6 separate regions of the Homo sapiens genome follow, and regions 1, 2, 3, 5 and 6 are each linked to region 4. The links are contacts of gene promoters, found by promoter capture Hi-C in blood cells and fetal thymus (Javierre and others, 2016). All regions are on one chromosome and are shown on one strand. The core of a region is centred on a gene start or on the middle of the fragment in contact, and the rest is flanking DNA. Distances in the headings are between cores, read along the strand shown.

What was found. The method cuts DNA at HindIII sites, captures the fragments that hold promoters and counts their contacts. A CHiCAGO score of 5 or more calls a contact.
Region 1: a contact is called between a fragment that was not itself captured here and the fragment with the promoter of LINC03010 in region 4, in 1 of 17 cell types (neutrophils). The highest score is 5.3, in neutrophils.
Region 2: a contact is called between a fragment that was not itself captured here and the fragment with the promoter of LINC03010 in region 4, in 5 of 17 cell types (naive B cells, total B cells, naive CD8 T cells and 2 more). The highest score is 6.0, in naive B cells.
Region 3: the fragment with the promoter of RBM33 here is called in contact with the fragment with the promoter of LINC03010 in region 4 in 2 of 17 cell types (neutrophils and M2 macrophages); the score reaches 6.5 in neutrophils.
Region 5: a fragment that was not itself captured here is called in contact with the fragment with the promoter of LINC03010 in region 4 in 1 of 17 cell types (neutrophils); the score reaches 7.5 in neutrophils.
Region 6: a fragment that was not itself captured here is called in contact with the fragment with the promoter of LINC03010 in region 4 in 1 of 17 cell types (neutrophils); the score reaches 6.1 in neutrophils.

Annotation. Positions count from the first base shown.
Region 1 is chr7:155,783,328-155,786,082 of GRCh38, reverse strand. No RefSeq gene overlaps it. Among named protein-coding and RNA genes, the nearest start is that of SHH, 28 kb to the left of the region's middle. The HindIII fragment of the contact is 927 bases long and covers 934-1,860 here.
Region 2 is chr7:154,941,330-154,944,425 of GRCh38, reverse strand. It overlaps PAXIP1 (PAX interacting protein 1), which reads left to right. Exons shown (of 21, transcript NM_007349.4): 21 at 262-736. The coding sequence ends at 277. It overlaps PAXIP1-AS2 (PAXIP1 antisense RNA 2), which reads right to left. Exons shown (of 8, transcript NR_024476.1): 3 at 1-399. Among named protein-coding and RNA genes, the nearest start is that of PAXIP1-AS2, 14 kb to the right of the region's middle. The HindIII fragment of the contact is 212 bases long and covers 1,198-1,409 here.
Region 3 is chr7:155,643,205-155,645,939 of GRCh38, reverse strand. It overlaps RBM33 (RNA binding motif protein 33), which reads right to left and starts at 1,279. Exons shown (of 18, transcript NM_053043.3): 1 at 1,021-1,279. The coding sequence starts at 1,063. RBM33-DT (RBM33 divergent transcript) reads left to right here and starts at 1,534. Exons shown (of 3, transcript NR_126344.1): 1 at 1,534-1,726; 2 at 2,336-2,472. RefSeq lists a silencer at 952-1,461 and an enhancer at 1,386-2,340. The HindIII fragment of the contact is 4,649 bases long and covers 1-1,531 here.
Region 4 is chr7:155,380,601-155,383,373 of GRCh38, reverse strand. It overlaps LINC03010 (long intergenic non-protein coding RNA 3010), which reads right to left and starts at 1,298. Exons shown (of 3, transcript NR_147174.1): 1 at 1,059-1,298. RefSeq lists enhancers at 429-1,240, 1,241-2,052. The HindIII fragment of the contact is 8,785 bases long and covers 1-2,234 here.
Region 5 is chr7:154,889,848-154,892,717 of GRCh38, reverse strand. It overlaps DPP6 (dipeptidyl peptidase like 6), which reads right to left. Exons shown (of 26, transcript NM_130797.4): 26 at 1-384. The coding sequence ends at 238. Among named protein-coding and RNA genes, the nearest start is that of PAXIP1-AS2, 37 kb to the left of the region's middle. The HindIII fragment of the contact is 1,152 bases long and covers 787-1,938 here.
Region 6 is chr7:155,802,479-155,805,178 of GRCh38, reverse strand. It overlaps SHH (sonic hedgehog signaling molecule), which reads left to right. Exons shown (of 3, transcript NM_000193.4): 3 at 1,453-2,700. The coding sequence ends at 2,279. Among named protein-coding and RNA genes, the nearest start is that of SHH, 8.6 kb to the left of the region's middle. RefSeq lists an enhancer at 1-13 and a silencer at 1-99. The HindIII fragment of the contact is 9,246 bases long and covers 1-2,700 here.

The DNA of each region.
Region 1 (2,755 bases), core at 148-2,647, 400 kb before region 4:
TAGGGTGGCTATGACACACACAAAAACAAAGAAACATAAAATAGCACATGTTGGTGAAGATGTGGCGAAATGGAAGAAACCCTTGAGCACTGTTGGTGGGGATGTCAAATGTTGTGGCTGCGGTGGAAAAGAGGATGACAGTTTCTCAAAAATTAAACATAGAACTGCCATGCGACCCAGCATTTCCACGCCCCCATACAGACACAGAAGAATTGGAAGCAGGCTCTTAAAAAGACGTGTGCACACTCATGTTCGTAACAGCATTCGTCATCGTCAAGCATCCCGTGTCCACTGATGGATGAATGGGTAACAAATGCACTGTGTGTTTATAATGGAATATGACTCAGCCTTGAAAAGGAAGGGAATCCTGACACAGGCTGTCACATGATGGACCTTGAGGACATCGTGCCAAGTGAACCAGGCCAGTCACAAAAGGATAAGCACCATAGGATCCCAACCACATGAGGCACTTATTGTCGTCAAATTCAGAGGCAGAAAGTGGAGTGGGGGCGGGGGGTGCTGGGGGCTCAGGAAGGGGATGGGAGTTTGTGTTTCATGGGGACAGAGTGTCAGTTCTGTAAGAGGAAAAGGTTCTGGAGATGGATGGTTGGGACAGCTGTACAGCAGTGTGAACATATGTAATAAAACAGAACTGGACACTGACAGTTAAAATCATATATATTGATGTATAATTTTGATGCTACATGTTTTACATAATTTGATGTTACGTTCTACAATTTTAAAAAAGTCCTTTTTATCAATAGCAATTCTTGTGTTTCTTTTTATTTGTACATTCTTTTTTCTTAATTAGCTAGCGGTTTGTCTATTTCACTGATTTTTTTTTCTAAGGACTGGGATTTTAATCTATTAATTTTGTTAAATAAGTGTTTTCCCTTGATTAAAGACTAATGGGAGAGAAAATTTCAGGAAGCTTCACATGACATCATCTGAACGGCTGTCATCAGAGGCTCCCTGGCAAGGCTGGTGCCATCATCTCAGGGGCACGGCCATCCTGGGAAGCTGAGGCGAAGCCTGCCTTTGGTGACTGAGGTGCACATTGGCAATGTAAGGGCCAGGGAAGAAGCCGAAGCCAGGAGCAGCACTGGAAGGCACACGCCTGTCATCCCAGCCCTTTGGGAGGCCAAGGCAGGCGGATCGCTTGAGCTCAGGAGTTCAAGACCAGCCTGGGCAATGTGGTGAAACCCCATCTCTACAAAAAATACAAAAATTAGCCAGGTGTGGTGGTGCACGCCTGTAATCCTAGCTACTCGGGAGGCTGAGAGGGGAGGTTCTCTTGAGCCCAGGAGGTCAAGTCTGCAGTGAGTCAGGAATGCACCACTGCATTCCAGCCTGGGTGACAGAGAAAGAAAGACCCTGTCTCCAAAAAAATAAGGAGAACAAAACATGGTATCATTCTTCAGACACCATCCACAGATGCTCTCCCTTGATGGTGAGAAAAAATTCTCTCCATTGTCAATTTTAGAGAAAAAACACGACTAGCGTCTGAGATTGAAAACATCCAGGCTAGCTTTCGAAGCTGGGTGAAGAGCTTAGGTGCGGTTTTCATTACACCTCCTCAACAGCAGCTGTTGTTACTTGGAATCAGAGAAGTGCTCCTCTCCGTCTGGTCTGAAGGGCATCTGCCCAGTCCTCTAGTCACCTGCAGTGGGTCGGGAGGTAGGGCTTTCTTTCTGGAGGGGTTTCCTCAGTGTCCAGCTCTGCAGCCTGGTGCGACGACATGTCCAGAATGCCCCACTGACTTTCCTGTCTGGATCTACGTCGGACCCTAGAGAAGAGCCGCAAGGACCTCTGCCCTCTCGCTGCGGCCTGCAGGCAACACCAAAGGTCAGCAAGAAAGCTTCCTTTTTGAGCGTGAAGCTTCAAAACTGCCGTGCTTCTCATTTCTTTTAAGCACACAGCAACGAGCTGCACCTCAAGGTGTACAACACATGGCTCTGTGCTTCTGTTCCTAGAGCCACCAATTGTCAGTACTGTGTGTTTCCTACAGAACTCTTTTATCACTTACTTTTCCCTTCAGACGTGACTGTCACTCTTTCAAAACATGCAAATACATGTTCGAATAAGAAAAGGACCTGGCCGCACACGGTGGCTCACACCTGTAATCCAAGCACTTTGGGTGGCGAAGACAGGCAGATCATTTGGGGCCAGGAGTTCAAGACCAAACTGGACAACATGGTGAAACCCTGTCTCTACTAAAAATATTAAAAATTAGCTGAGCATGGTGGTGCACACCTGTGGTCCCAGCCACTGGGGAAGCTGAGGTGGGAGGATCAGCTGAGCGCAGGAAATCAGGGCTACATTGAGCTGTGATTGCACCACTGCACTCCCGGTGACACAGGCAGAAACCAAGGGTGAGATTTCAGGACTCAGCGGCCATGTTTCAACAGGAATGATCAGTGCCACACACCTGAACCACTTCCAAACCTCCTGTGTCTGGGACGGGGACACCCCTGGGCCTGCCACAAATACACTGCCTCACGTAATTGGTTGCACTAAATAAATACACACCAAGACCTCCAGCATGCCAGGCACTGCTCAGGGGGCAACTATGGGAAATAACAATACCTTCTTCAAAGGATCTACCACTCTTGAGTGTACCCTTAATTCAAAGAAAGCCCCATTTTCTCCCTGAAATGTCAAGGCGTTTTTTGCCCATGTTCTGTAGAGATCCCATTACCCAAAGTACAGGTTTTAAAAACAAGGAATGACTTATTCTTGAACTATGGATTAAAGA
Region 2 (3,096 bases), core at 54-2,553, 440 kb after region 4:
CCTCAGTTCTGGCCGCATGGTGGATACCTTGCGGAGCTGGCACAGGTGCTGATGTCCCCGGGCTGAGTGAGCCTGTGTGTCGGGGCTGAGGGCCTCCTGTGATGTGGGTATGCAGCAGAGCGACTGGTTTGAATGGGTAAGAAAGAGGCTGTAGCATTCCTTCAAGGGTGTCTCTGAAACTGGATGATGAATGTTGGAACCCTTGGTTTCATGTTTTTCTTTTGCCTTGTGTTTGAAAGTCGTTTTCCTCAACAAGCCTACATATAAGTTTAACTGATGGCGTCTAGGCTGCCGTGCATGTCGACTCCTGCGGTGCGGGGCTGGCTGTCTGGCTGGCGAGGAGCTGCTGCGCTTCCTTCACATGCTCTTGTTTTCCAGCTGCTTTCCTGGGGGATCAGACTGTGAAGCAGGAAGACAGATATAATAAATATACTGCATCTTTTTAAGATGTGCAATTTTATTCTGAGGAAACATAAATTATGTTTTGTATTATATGACTTTAAGAGCCCACATTAGGTTTTATGATTCATTTGCCAGGTTTTTAAATGTTTTCACAAAACTGTTACGGGACTTCAACTAGAAATAAAATGGTGTAAATAAAGACCTTGCTATCTCTAAATTATGGATGTTAAAGATTTGAAATGTTTTGTACTTTGATTATTTTTATTTCTTATACTCTGTTTTCTTTTATATTGATATCTTGCCCACATTTTAAATAAATGTACTTTTGAACTTAGAATTGAGTAATCCTTTATTATTCCACATTTTTTGCATAACTTATAATTTGCATCAAACCGGATCACATTTTAAGTAATTTCAAGACAAAATATTTTCCAGTCAATTTTTACCTCAAGAAATAATTTCTAGAAGCCAGCCATTTTTTTTGTCACCGTAATAAACTCCATCCCAGGCAGGGGTGGATTCAGATTATTTTGCAATCACTAAGCACAGGCGCAACCAGTGAGAACCAGTGACGCTACGGAACTTGCATCCATCCTGCTTCTTTCCAGACCCTGTTGCAGTACACGTCTTGTTGGATCATAGGTGTGATAAAATGGTAGGAGACCGCCTGTTTATTAAAGATGAGCAGGGCAGTAACTGCTAATATCTTTAGATCGTGCTGACCAGTGCTGTCGCAGACATTCAGAGCTGTTTTTTAACCAACATTGTGCCTCAAAATATGTCTATTTTTAAGCTTATATTTTTGTGCTTAAATAAACTTAGATACTGACTTATCTTTGAGTAGATGTAGAACTGACCTTTTCCCCTTGTGTACCACAGGTAGAATTGGTGTTGCTATAAAATATTTTAGATTCTGTAGAATCCTGGCAGTGTGGAAGCATTTCATAAATCAGAATAGAGTTTTCATTTGCAAAGTATTCAAAGTACTTCCCTACTACTTAGAAGCTTGAAGGCAAGTGACAATCATTACAGAATAAATGGGCCTTCTGGGTAGAGTATAATGCGTCTGTTTAATCTTTGGTGGAGACAGGGTGTTTATATAACCAACATACAAATATGACTGATTTGATTAACCTTTCAATTAGTGCTTTTTTTTCTAAAGCTGCCAAGAAATGATCCTTAAAAACTCCAGGAGCTGTCTAAAGCCAACTGGCTTGCACAGCTGTTAAGCATTGATTTGGTGACTAAGAGGGACTTAGATGAACATATAAAAATAAAAAGATTTCAAGTAAATACTTCTTAGAAAAAAATGATTAGATCGGACAAATTATTTCTTACATGAAAATCTCATTTAATCCTATTTTCATCTGGCTCGGTGTCATCTAATAGAAATATAATGGGAACAATGTGTAATTTAAACATTTTTAGTAGCTACAATAAATGTTTTAAAATTAGTTTTAATATGTAGACAATACATCCAAATATTGCTTCTGCCAGAAGTAATCAATATTTTTAGAAATTACTGAGATATTTTTACTGTTTGAGGGATGCCAAGTCTTTAAAATCCAGTGTATATTTTACACTTAGACAACATCTCAATTCTGAAATTTTCATTGGAAGTACTTGATCTGTTTAGATTTCACACCACTTAGAGTTGAAAAAGGATATTATGTATGTTTATATACTCAAATTATTCAAAAGATAGTTAAGTGTCTTCCAATAACTGAATTAATGCCAGTTTTGAAGTTAACATAAAGTGCAATTAAAAAATGGAGGTCCTTCCCTTGCACTAGGTACTTTTCCAGCGTGCAGTGACCAGGGGTGGCTGATCATTGAGAAGATGAACAGCTGTCCATCACCGAGCTGCCACCTCAGTATACCCTGAATTCTGTAACACTGGCAAGTAAGAATGGCAAGCAATGTGAATGCCAATGATGAAGACATAGATAATCCATCCAAATCATCCCAAGATTGTTTCTTTGTGTAGGATAATTAAAAGTATCTACCTGATAGCTCACAAAAAGTGTGTTTTTAATCTATCTGCTAGGTATTGAGAGGAAACTTGGAAGAAATACTGCGTATCCTAGCTCTAGGAGTTTAGTCTCATTAGGAAAAGTTAAACAACATATGTCAATCTAGCAAATATTTGGTAATTTAAGGAAATATTTGAATAGTAATAGCTGCACAACTTTATTTTTAAGAAATATTTTAGCATAGAAAGTTAAATGAAGATAATTGTATCCTCAGCTCTTTAAACCTCAGTGCTGCTCCCCATGAAGCTCTCCCAAATTACTTTGTTGAATTAAAAAATAAGTGTGTAATTACGTACTAACTTTGTAGAAAGTTTAGCTACCTCCTGAAATGAACCACATGTGTCCCCGAAGAGTTTCTCTCGCCCACCGCCCAGCCGCTCCATCTCTGAACTTCAGTGTTGCTGGGCTTGCTCCTCAGCCGATTCCACCCTCTAGGGGTGCAGCTAAACACAGGTCACCTCTCCTTATTTCCAAGGTTTGTTCCTCCAACTGCAGAGCTGTTCATATCTACCTCTCCCCACGCTCACTGTGTTCATTTCTTTTCCTCTTGTAAATGTTAGCAAGGTTTTACATTTGTCTCCTTTTCTCCAGTCGCTTTCCTTTCAGGTTGACCTCTGTACTGTTCCAGGAGTAATTTTCCTGAAATAAGATTCTGTTTCTC
Region 3 (2,735 bases), core at 30-2,529, 260 kb before region 4:
CTACACTTAGTCTTTTTTGTTTTTCCATTTTGTCAGGCAAACGTTTTGACAGTTGGGCCAAAATTCCTAAACAGGATGATAACAACGTAACCATCTGCTAGCATTTACTAAAAAATACTTCTCGAGTATACACTAGACTGGCTTTTCAACGTTTCAATGGTAAGAACTAATCCCAAATGCTTTTGTTATCCATATTTTACCATCTTTTCAAAGTTTTCAAAATAATCACTTAAAAAGTCACTTTCAAGTATCTCTCCACGTTTTTAAAACCCCCAGTGATATGTAATTTTACCTGAAAGTAATTTACCTACAATTTTTTAGAGATAGGTGTTTCATCAATACTGTTTATGCTTGCAAACAAGAAAAACTATCCAAAGGAACTGACTCAGTATCTAAACCTTTTGTGTCACGTTTTCACTTTTGGAAGACGCACATAAAACACTAACAGGTTATTAGACAACAAATAAGTTAATTTAAAACAGGGATTTATTGAGACTTTCTCAAGAAATCTCACTTTCCAAACTGGCCTACTGTCGCACATTCCTTCACACAGGTGAATCTTTTCGTTATGTTTTTGTAATGGGCTTCAAATCAATCTAAATCTGTCAGGATGGCCCCACAATCTTAAACACCCACCCTACAGCGACCTGCCCCGCTCTCCCTAAGTGACACTGTCTCGGGGGGTGGGGGGGGCGCTCTCCTACCCATAGGACACCAGGCCGGCTTCGGCACTTAATGCCCGCCAACGCCAGAGATGGGCCTGACACTTAGGCAGCCTTGCAAAGTAGAGGACACACAGAAGTTCACAGGTAAGTACGATCTGCACAGCGGAGAGGAGGAGCGAGAAAGGGAGAATGACAATAGCGAGGGAAGGCGAGGGAGAAAACGGAATAGGCCGAACACAAAGAGAGTCGGAGCCGGGGAGAGCCTCGTCCTCTCCTAAGCGGGGAGGCCCCCCGGCCTACACCCCCGCCCACCGCGGCGCGGTCCTGGCCCCCAGAGTCCGGCTGCCTCACGTACCTCCGGCGCCTGCTCCTCCGCTCGCTCCCAGGGCGGCCGCCATGGCACTCGCGGGGCCCGGCCTTCAGCCTCCCCCACCAAGCCAGCTGGTGGGCCGACGTGCCTGGTCCGGGCCCGGGTACGGGTGACGGAGGACAGAGAAGGGAGGGGGCTGCAGGAGGCAGAGGCGAAGCCGGGCGCTTCGCGGTCCACAGCTGGCCCTTCGCCTCCGCAGGAAGAAAACAACAAACTACCGCAACATGGCCGCGCGCCCGCGCCCGCCGCGGTGCACCCTGGGATGATGGAGGCCGGGAGGCGGGCGGGCGCCGGGGCCTGCCCCCGCCGAGGCCGCAGCAGCCCTGAGGCCGCCGCCGTGTTTCGGGCGGTGGGCGTGCAACGCAAACACGCGGCAGTCACCTCCGCCCGGCTCCTGAAACCCAAATGTTTGAAGCAGGGCGGGGACGACTGCTGGCCATAGGTCGATTCCGGGTTCAGTCGTAAGGCGCTTTGCAGCAGTCGGCAAAGCGAAGCTTTACGGCAGCCCGTCTCCCGTTAGGAGCCGGGGAGGCAAGGTCCAGCGTACGGTCCGGGGGAACCTTAACTGTCGTTTCTGTGCCTGGACAGTAGGTTGGAGAGTGGGGTCTGAATGAGCTACAGTAGTGAACGCCGACGGCTTGTGTTGAGGGCAGGAAAGGGTGCACACAGCTCCGGCAGGTGCTTCCGCGAGGTGAGATGAGTGCCGCGCGCGCCGGGCTAACGTGCACGCGCACTCGTGCGGCGCCCGCGAGCCCTCACTTCCTACAACCCGAGACCCTCCGGACCCGCGACCCCGGACCCCCGTCCCCTTCTCCGCGCCCGGCTGGGCAGCGGGCAGCGCCGGACCCTGATGGGCTCTCGGCCCTTACTGCCCCTGCGCCTTGCGGCCCTGAGAACAAGACGTGAGCAGGACGGATAGCGCCCGGCACTCATGTCTGAGTTTGCATTTTGAGCAGTGAGAAAGGTTAAGAAACGAAATCCTCATACTTGACATAAAGGAAAGGGTGCTGGGTGGTCAGACAGCTGTGGACGAAAGGGCTCAGGGGTTTTGGGGTGTGGGGCCCGGGAAGGCGCATCTGAGTGGTCGCAGTCGGGGAAGGGGGTTGATTAAGTACACACCGGCTGTAAACATTGATTCCATATCGGTCAATGTGGGGCTTAGGTGAGGCGTTCTGACCCAGCAATGAAACTGGAAAGGTAGGCAGGGGCCAGGATTCCGGACTTTGGGACGTTTTTCTGAGTCTATGGGGTCTATTGAAAGATTTTAGAAACAATTTACATGGTAAGATTTGTATTTTAGAAAGGTGACTGATACAACAACGTAGAGGACCCTGCAATGTGGAGAGGCATGAAACTGGAGGTCCAGTGCCGTGAGTTAACAATCAAGACGTCCATACAGGAGATGCATTGGTGGATGGGTGAAGAGATGATAAAACGGTACGTATAATAAAATGCTGGCCGGGCGCGGTGGCTCACGCCTGTAATCCCACCACTTTGGGAGGCTGAGGTGGGTGGATCACGAGGTCAGGAGTTTGAGACCAGCCTGACCAACATGGTGAAACCCCGTCTCTACTAAAAATACAAAAATTAGTTGGGCGTGGTGGCACGCGCCTGTAATCCCAGCTACTCAGGAGGCTGAGGCAGGAGAATTGCTTGAATCGAGGAGGCGGAGGTTGCAGTGAGCCGAGATTGCGCCACGG
Region 4 (2,773 bases), core at 49-2,548:
AAATGAAATAAATTTGCACCATGAGAGAGTAGGTCCAACTCTGCACAAATTAAAACAAAACACAACAAAAAATGTTTCAGCCAGAAGTAACATTCGACATGGTCTACCCCCATCAGCTCCTTTTACAGGTGAGGAAGTGGAGGCCTAAAAAGCTGGGAAGACTTGCTCAAGGTTATGCTCAAGGTTACATCCACCTCTTCCTGCAGGGTAGAGGCTGGAGGGTCTCAGAAAGGCTCCCTCCCTCCCTTCCTGCTTCACAGCTGGGGACTGGAGGCCCAGATCCAGACCCAGAAGCTGGAAAGAAATCCCAGGTTGTGAGGCCCGTCCTCCCACTCAGCCCCCAACTCTAGGCCTGGGACCCTCCACAGCCCTCCAGGCACCAGGGGACCAATCGGGATGGAACCAGCCCCTCAAGACCCAGGGCCACTACCTAGCAAGTCCCTCCTTATCTGGGTAGCCTATACCCCCCACCTTGCCTTCCCCAGACCCTGTGCTAGGGACCCCTGCCTCAGGAAGTGAGCCCTACTGAACAGATGGGGGGCGGCATTTGTGGCTCGCGGCCTCTTTCTCTGTCCCTCCCTCCCGGCCTGCCCCCTGCCCTTCGAAGAAATTGAATTCCAAGGAGGAAGAGGGGAGAAAGAACACCCAAACCCCTGCCTTCTCACTGCATAAATACCTAAATCCCGGGTCCTCCAGAGCCTGCCTGGAGCCTGCCAGCCGCTGCCTGCGGTCCTGCCCACAGCCTGAGGTCCCGGCCTGCACCTCCTCATAAGCCCACACTGGCGGTGCCATGCCATGGGCTCCCCTGGGCTCCCTCTGCCGCCCAGCCTGCCCCGCACACTCCACTCGCGCCGCCCGCCCTTTGCTGCAGGACGGGGCCAGCCAGGGCAACTCTCCGCAGCCCAGAGCTCTCGTCCCTTGAATCCTGCCGGTGGAGCAGGGGGCAAGGGGGAGCCAGGCACGCCCAGCCCCGGACCCGCAAGCAGGGACCCTCGGGGCGGCGGTCCGCACAGGGCAGGGGCTGCTGGAGACCCGCGGCCCCCACCCCCGACACTCACCGCGCGGTGCCCAGCGCGCGCCAGGGCTCCCATCAAGTCCTCTCGGAGCCCGCAGCAGGCTCCCACTTCTGTTTTTCTCTGACAGCCATGCAGGCAGCAGGCCTTCAGCCAGGCTCCCCGCCGCGCTTCCACGCACGCACACTCACAGTCACGCTCGTGCACACTCGCACGCACACGCACGCTCACGCTCATGCACACTCACACTCACATTCGTGTACATGTACACATTCACACCCGCATGCACACTCAAACTCACGCTCACGCACACTCACGCTCGTGCACGCGCACGCATACACACGCCCGCGCTCACACGGACACGAGAACTCGCCCCGCTGCGCGCCTGGCTCCCGGGACGCCTGGAGCTGGGGAGCGAGGGCCCCGGACGCCTGTAGCCGCCAGGGGAGGCCGGAGGGGCAGACGGGTGCAGAGAGCAGCCGGAAAGGCAGTGCCCGGCCACCAAGAGGCCGATTACTTGAGGGGCCTGAGGTGTGGAGCCCAGGCCGAAGACCCTGGGTGCGAGAAGGCAGCGGCCAGGAGGCCGCCCTAGAGCCTCGGGAGCGGGCGGGGGAAGGGGGATGTCCACGGAGACCAGAGTTGGTGGCTCTGACCGAGGAGGGCCTCGCGCTCCCCACGCCACTTGGCAGGGCTGGGGACACGCGCCCTCTCCCCCCTCTCCCTGGGGCCGCGCAGGGCTGTACCCGGGCTCTGCCCAGATCCCCTCGGAGCGGAAGATGCAAGTTGGCTTTTGTCTGACCCGGTCAGACAGAGCCGTTCTGTGGGATAAAGGCTTAACGCTCCGTGAACACGCAGAAAAAGCTCCGCGCTGGCCCTCTGACAATCCCATTGTCTCGGGCCTGAGCCCGGCGGTTTGGTCTGAAAGCGCCAAGTTCATGACATTTCAAAGAGCAATGATACTGGGAGAGGGGGGTGGGCAGGGGAGGGAGGGGTGTGCAGGAGAAATACATTCCTAAAATACGAAGTAACAGTATCTGACTCCCTCGCCAGCGCGTTCCTCAGCTCAGCCCCCTGCCCCACCCTCCACGAACCCATTCAGACCGAATCCCCTTCTCCAGCCCCGTGTGGACCCAGAGCCAGGCTGCAAAAGTCAGGATCACCAGGGACTGCGGTTTGGAAGGTGAAGGTGTGAAAAGATGCCCAAGTAGCTGCGTGGAAGCTTCCTGGAATGTCAGCAGAGTGACAGCAGCCGTTTAGCACAAGCTCCCATTGTCTGCACTGCCCCACAAGATAAGAATTTGCCAAAAAGGACTTTAGGTGCCCACATGAGTTTATTTTAAAGAGCTAGAGTGTTACTGTTTTCTTTCATTTGTATTACTGTTCGTACTATATCCTTTAAAAAAAAAACTATTTTCTGAGCCAGGAAGCAAAGGAGCTTCCATTTTTAGTGTTTAATTTGTTTAATGTGCCTCGGCAAAAGCAAATAATTCCTGAGAGAAAGCAGAATCCTCAGGAAATTGAATGTGTTTTGTCTCCAGCGAAGTTTCCCTTGAGTGATTTCGTTTGCTTTCTGTCTCGCCAAGCAGGCTCTGCACTGGGACCTCCAGCAGGCTGGGGCCAGGCTGGGCAGTCTGCAGCCCCTCTCCCCACCTTAGGTGGTGAGGCTTCTCTGATCCTCAGCCCACTGGCCAGGTAAACTGTGCTCCCGAAGAACAAAACGTAGCCTTGTAGAGTCATTCTAATGCGAGGAGAAAATAGGA
Region 5 (2,870 bases), core at 113-2,612, 490 kb after region 4:
AGGAGGCGCTGCTGCGGGGACAGCGTTGTCCCTGGTGCCATGGAGGCCGTGAGTGATGACCCCGGGGAAGGAGCTTGTTTCCCAAGCAAAACTGCCTTCCGCATCCGAGACACACATGCTATGGAACACCCGGCCCCGCCCCGCCCCGCCCCTCCGAGGGAAGAGGGAGGGCAGGGAAATCCCTCGGTTGCATCTGGTTGTAGAAAGAGCCACGTTTGTGCTTAGAGCGACCTGAGCTTAGTCCTCCTCCTCGTCCTCTTTCGCTGTGACTGTCAGCAGTTTGTCCTGGATCCTGAAGCATTCCACGAAGAAGTTGATGATGGACCGGTACAGATGCTGTTTGAGGCTGGAGCTGGTAAAGTAATGGCTTTCGTCCGGGTAAATCTGCAAGGAAGGCACGGAGAAATTACTCTCCCAGGTATACGCTCCCCAGGGGACGGGAACGCACAGAAGGTGTGGAGTTTAGTGAAACCTGGGCCCCGTCCGGGGCTGGATTGTAGTTGATGAAGTGGGTTTGCTAACCATGCCACTCCTGATGGAAGTGCCTCTTCCTCCTGGGAGATCTGCCTGGCTGTCCCAGTCAGAGGGGCGCCTCCCCTAGCGTGGACATGCACCACCCATTCGTGAAGCCAACCAGCCTTCAAACACCACCACGCCCCCGGTGCCTGGCCCTCTCCAGGCACAGCAAATGCTCAGTGGGAACTGGGTGAAAACATTGGGAAGCTCTTCATTCAACACTCTACAGTCCGGATCTGCTTGCTTGAATTTGCAACATGGATACAAGCTTAGGGACTACAGAGCCGCAGCCCAAGTTTTCAGGGTGTCAGGCTCTGAAAAGAAATAGAATTTCATGCCTGTAATCCCAGTGCTTTGGCAGGCCGAGGCGGGAGGATCACTTGAGGTCAGGAGTTCGAGACCAGCCTGGCCAACACGGTAAAACCGTGTCTCTACTAAAAATACAAAAATTAGCTGGGCATGGTGGGGCGTGCCTGTAATCCCAGCTACTCGGGAGGCTGAGGTAGGAGAATCACTTGAACCCAGGAGGCGGAGGTTGCTGTGAGCCGAGATCGCGCCATTACACTCCTATGCTCTCTCAGTTACACTCTGAGTGTGGGAAACTCCCGTGGAAGGGCTGCGTGCTGTCCTGGGTGCCCACGGGCCCACCCCACAGATTTTGCGTCCTGGCTACTCCCTGTGTGACTGTGGAGGTTAACTTGCCTGAGCCTCGGATTCCAGGTGTGTCGGGTGGGGAGGATAATCACAGACTCCAGCTCATGACACTTTGTGAGAATTAAACAATCTTATAGCCGTGCCGTGCTTAGAATGAGGCCTGGAATGTGGGCTCATTCGGTCCCAGATGCCAATAGGATGATGGCTAATTATTCTACTGCCAATGCGGTGATGCCACCATCTCCTAGGAGCACCGTGAACCATCTGTGCACGTGCAGGGATTCAAAGCCTGCATCTTATTTTTTTCTTTTCTTTTTCAGACAGGGTCTCACTCTGTCGCCCAGGCTGGAATGCCATGGTGTTACCATAGCTCACTGCAGCCTCAACCTCCTGGGCTCAAGTGATTCTCCCACTTCAGCCTCCTGTGTAGCTGGGACCACAGGTACACATGACTACGTCCGGCTATTTTCTAAAAACTTTTTGTAGAGATGGGGTCTTGCTCTGTTGCCTAGGCTGGTCTCAAACTCCTGAGCTCAAGGCAATCCCCGCACCTCAGCCTCCCAAAGTGCAGGGACTACAGGTGTGAGCCACTGCATCTGGCCCAAAACCTACATCTTTCTATGACACTAGACTGCCTCTTCCTGCCTTCTTTGTATGTTTTTGGAGGGTGAAATTCATCTTTATTTTGAAGTATTTATTAATGCTGTCATTAGGCTATGATATGTCATTAAAACATCAAGTAGTACAAGAGGATATGGGCAGGAAGCTTTCTCCTCCTGCCTCAGGCCCCCGTCTCCCGTGCTCTTACCTGGGGCTGGGCCTGGCTCCAGATGCATGGGGTGTCTGTGAAGGCCTTTGCTGTGCCCACATGTGTGTCCCTGGGTGGGTCCTGCTCCCTGATACCCATGGAGCCTGCAGCGATGCAGGCTGCTCTGTACCTGGGGGGTTCAGCTCGCCCCATATCTTGGGGAGTTGCCCACATGAACACATACACATGGACCTTTGGAGCGTCCATGGTCAGTGTGCTTAACACTGCCATGCAACTGCCACACTTACTTTGAAAAAGTCTGAAATCTGAACGTCTTTCACAAGGGAACTCAAGTGTGGTGTAACCCCGTCCTTCTGCCCCTCTTCATCCACACTGGGGTCCAACTCCCTTCTGGCTGGAGCTCTCCCTGCCTGATCAAGCCCACAGGTGGTCCCTCCCTCCCACAGGCAGGGATGCTGGAGGCCAAGGCAGTGATCAGCCCAGGGCAAGAGCTCTCTGAGGGAGGCAGGGTGCCTGCCTGTCATCTGTCCCCAAGGAGCTCTCCCATTCATTCATGTTGGACCTGAAGAGACCATTGGGTCATACCTGTTCCACCAAAGGAGCAGAAGGCAGGAAGGAAATGGCAGAAGTTTCCAGAGACATCCCTGTGCATTACTGGGAAGAGCCCAGGTTTGAGGCTGCTGGGTCAGCACTTGATGCTGTTGTGGACGGGCCACGGGTTGGTTGTGGGAAAGTGAGTTCAGTTCTGGGAAGGGTACCCCTCTTTCACTACTGCCTAGCTACAGATGGCCCCAGGACATCCTGCTAGTGCGTAGTAACATGTGGTGTTGGTCAGAGGGAAGCAGTGGGGCAAGGCTCAGGGCCCACCAGCACCACTCTCACCAACCCAGAACAACAGTCCCACTCTCCGCAGCGGGATAGCCCCAGCCAC
Region 6 (2,700 bases), core at 179-2,678, 420 kb before region 4:
GCCCGCGGGGTCCCCCTAGCGGGGGTCTCCGGAGGCCTCCTCCCAAGTGAGCAGCGCTAATCCATCCCCCGGATCGCGCCGGGAGAGCGGAGCCGCGGCGCGGGAGCCGCTCATTGGCATTCTGAGCACACGGGCGGGGGCGCGGGGCGCAGCGTGTCAAGCCGGGCCGTGCGACTCGACGACTCGGGCTCGCCAGCGCCCGGGGTCGCATTCCGGGGGGCTACGGAGGGCCTCCAACGGCCAGCCCCGCACTTCATGCCAGAGAAACCGATGAGAAGATTAAAAGCCCCCTGTAATTCCAGCAGGAAGATTCTTTCTGGCAATCTCTATTTGCAAAAAGCATGATCCCGGAGATTGGAATGCAAAGAAGACGGCCCTCCCCGCCCTCCTCCCCGGCCCCCTGCGCTCCGCCCCAACTTCAATTATTGTCCTGGGGACAGTGAGCCTCAGAGAGCGACAGAGGGCTCGAGAAAGCGGGTAGTCAAGGGGCCTTGAGACCCGGCGCTTCCAGCGCTCCGAACAGGCCCCGCCATTTAAAATTCAAATACACATCTTGAGTGCTTGGAAGAGAGGCCTGGCTGTGCAAATAGTGCTTGTGAATTGCACACGGGGTGGGGGGGGGTTGCACCTGAGCAAATAGGGAGGGGGAGGCCCGCGAGCTGGGGAGAGAGTGAGCTGAGAACAGGGAGGGGAGAAAATGGAAGTGTCCCCTTCCAAGAGTGTCTCCTGTTTATCCCAGAAATCACAATGACAATGCTGGGCCCTTTATTGGATTTTAATTAGAAAATCCACACAAGCCTCGGATTTTCACACCTCGGCCAATCTCTGGAATGTTTGTCCAGTTGCTACAACTACTGCAGCTATTTTTCACTCCCCGCCCCCGCCCCTCCGCAGGCCCACGCCGAGGCGCGGCAGGGTGCTGCGGGCAGGCGGGCAGGCGGGCAGGCGGGCCAGGGGTTTCCGCCGCGCAGCCCGGGTGCTGAGTGCGCGAGCAGGCGCCGCGCCCCGCGCCGGGGCGGGAGGGAAGGAGGGTGCGCCCGGCGCCCGCGGGAGCTCAAGGAGGCTTCCTGAGGAATCCAAGTGCAGAGCAAACACCCTCTGGATGGATTCGCGGCGAGGCCGGGTGTGTGCGGAGCTGGGGGTGGGGTTGGAGGAAGGCGGAAGGAAAGAGTGTCACCGGCCTCTGCAGGAAACGCCAGCCAACCTCTGTGACCGCCAGCCCAGACTTAGAGAGTCGTTAAGGAATGTGTCGGAATCCTGTCCCTGGGGCAGTGGGGTTGGGGGAGGGAGGTGTGTGCGGGACCCGCCTGGAATCAATCGCCCCGCCCCGCGCCTTGCGCACCCCTGGCCTAGGAGCGCGGGCACCAAGCGTGCGCCCTCCTCCCCGAGACGCGCCTCCCTCTCGGAACTCAATGCCCTGTCCTCTCTTCTTTCCCTTCTCCTCACCCGCAGAGAACTCGGTGGCGGCCAAATCGGGAGGCTGCTTCCCGGGCTCGGCCACGGTGCACCTGGAGCAGGGCGGCACCAAGCTGGTGAAGGACCTGAGCCCCGGGGACCGCGTGCTGGCGGCGGACGACCAGGGCCGGCTGCTCTACAGCGACTTCCTCACTTTCCTGGACCGCGACGACGGCGCCAAGAAGGTCTTCTACGTGATCGAGACGCGGGAGCCGCGCGAGCGCCTGCTGCTCACCGCCGCGCACCTGCTCTTTGTGGCGCCGCACAACGACTCGGCCACCGGGGAGCCCGAGGCGTCCTCGGGCTCGGGGCCGCCTTCCGGGGGCGCACTGGGGCCTCGGGCGCTGTTCGCCAGCCGCGTGCGCCCGGGCCAGCGCGTGTACGTGGTGGCCGAGCGTGACGGGGACCGCCGGCTCCTGCCCGCCGCTGTGCACAGCGTGACCCTAAGCGAGGAGGCCGCGGGCGCCTACGCGCCGCTCACGGCCCAGGGCACCATTCTCATCAACCGGGTGCTGGCCTCGTGCTACGCGGTCATCGAGGAGCACAGCTGGGCGCACCGGGCCTTCGCGCCCTTCCGCCTGGCGCACGCGCTCCTGGCTGCACTGGCGCCCGCGCGCACGGACCGCGGCGGGGACAGCGGCGGCGGGGACCGCGGGGGCGGCGGCGGCAGAGTAGCCCTAACCGCTCCAGGTGCTGCCGACGCTCCGGGTGCGGGGGCCACCGCGGGCATCCACTGGTACTCGCAGCTGCTCTACCAAATAGGCACCTGGCTCCTGGACAGCGAGGCCCTGCACCCGCTGGGCATGGCGGTCAAGTCCAGCTGAAGCCGGGGGGCCGGGGGAGGGGCGCGGGAGGGGGCGGGGCGGGGCAGCAACAGCAACGCAAAGCAAAAAGACACTCGGAAAAGGCGCACGAACCAGACTGAGTTATAATAAGAATAAGAATAATAAAGTAGGACAGTCCAAAGTAGACTCTAAGGAAACAAGGACCCCGGGAAGTTTTGTTGTTGTGCTTAGTTGATATATATTTTTTGAATTTTTTTGGTTATTGTTTTATTTTGGTTATTTTTTCCTCCTCTCCTGGCTATTTATTTGTTTGGTATGAATAGATGTTTTAAATAATATGAACCGGACCTTCAAGAGCCTTAAATAGTTTGTTTCTTGGATAATTTATTATGATCATGTGAACTGTACTCACGGGGGAAAGATTATTTTGTGAGGCCAAGCAACCTGCTCAGAGTCTATT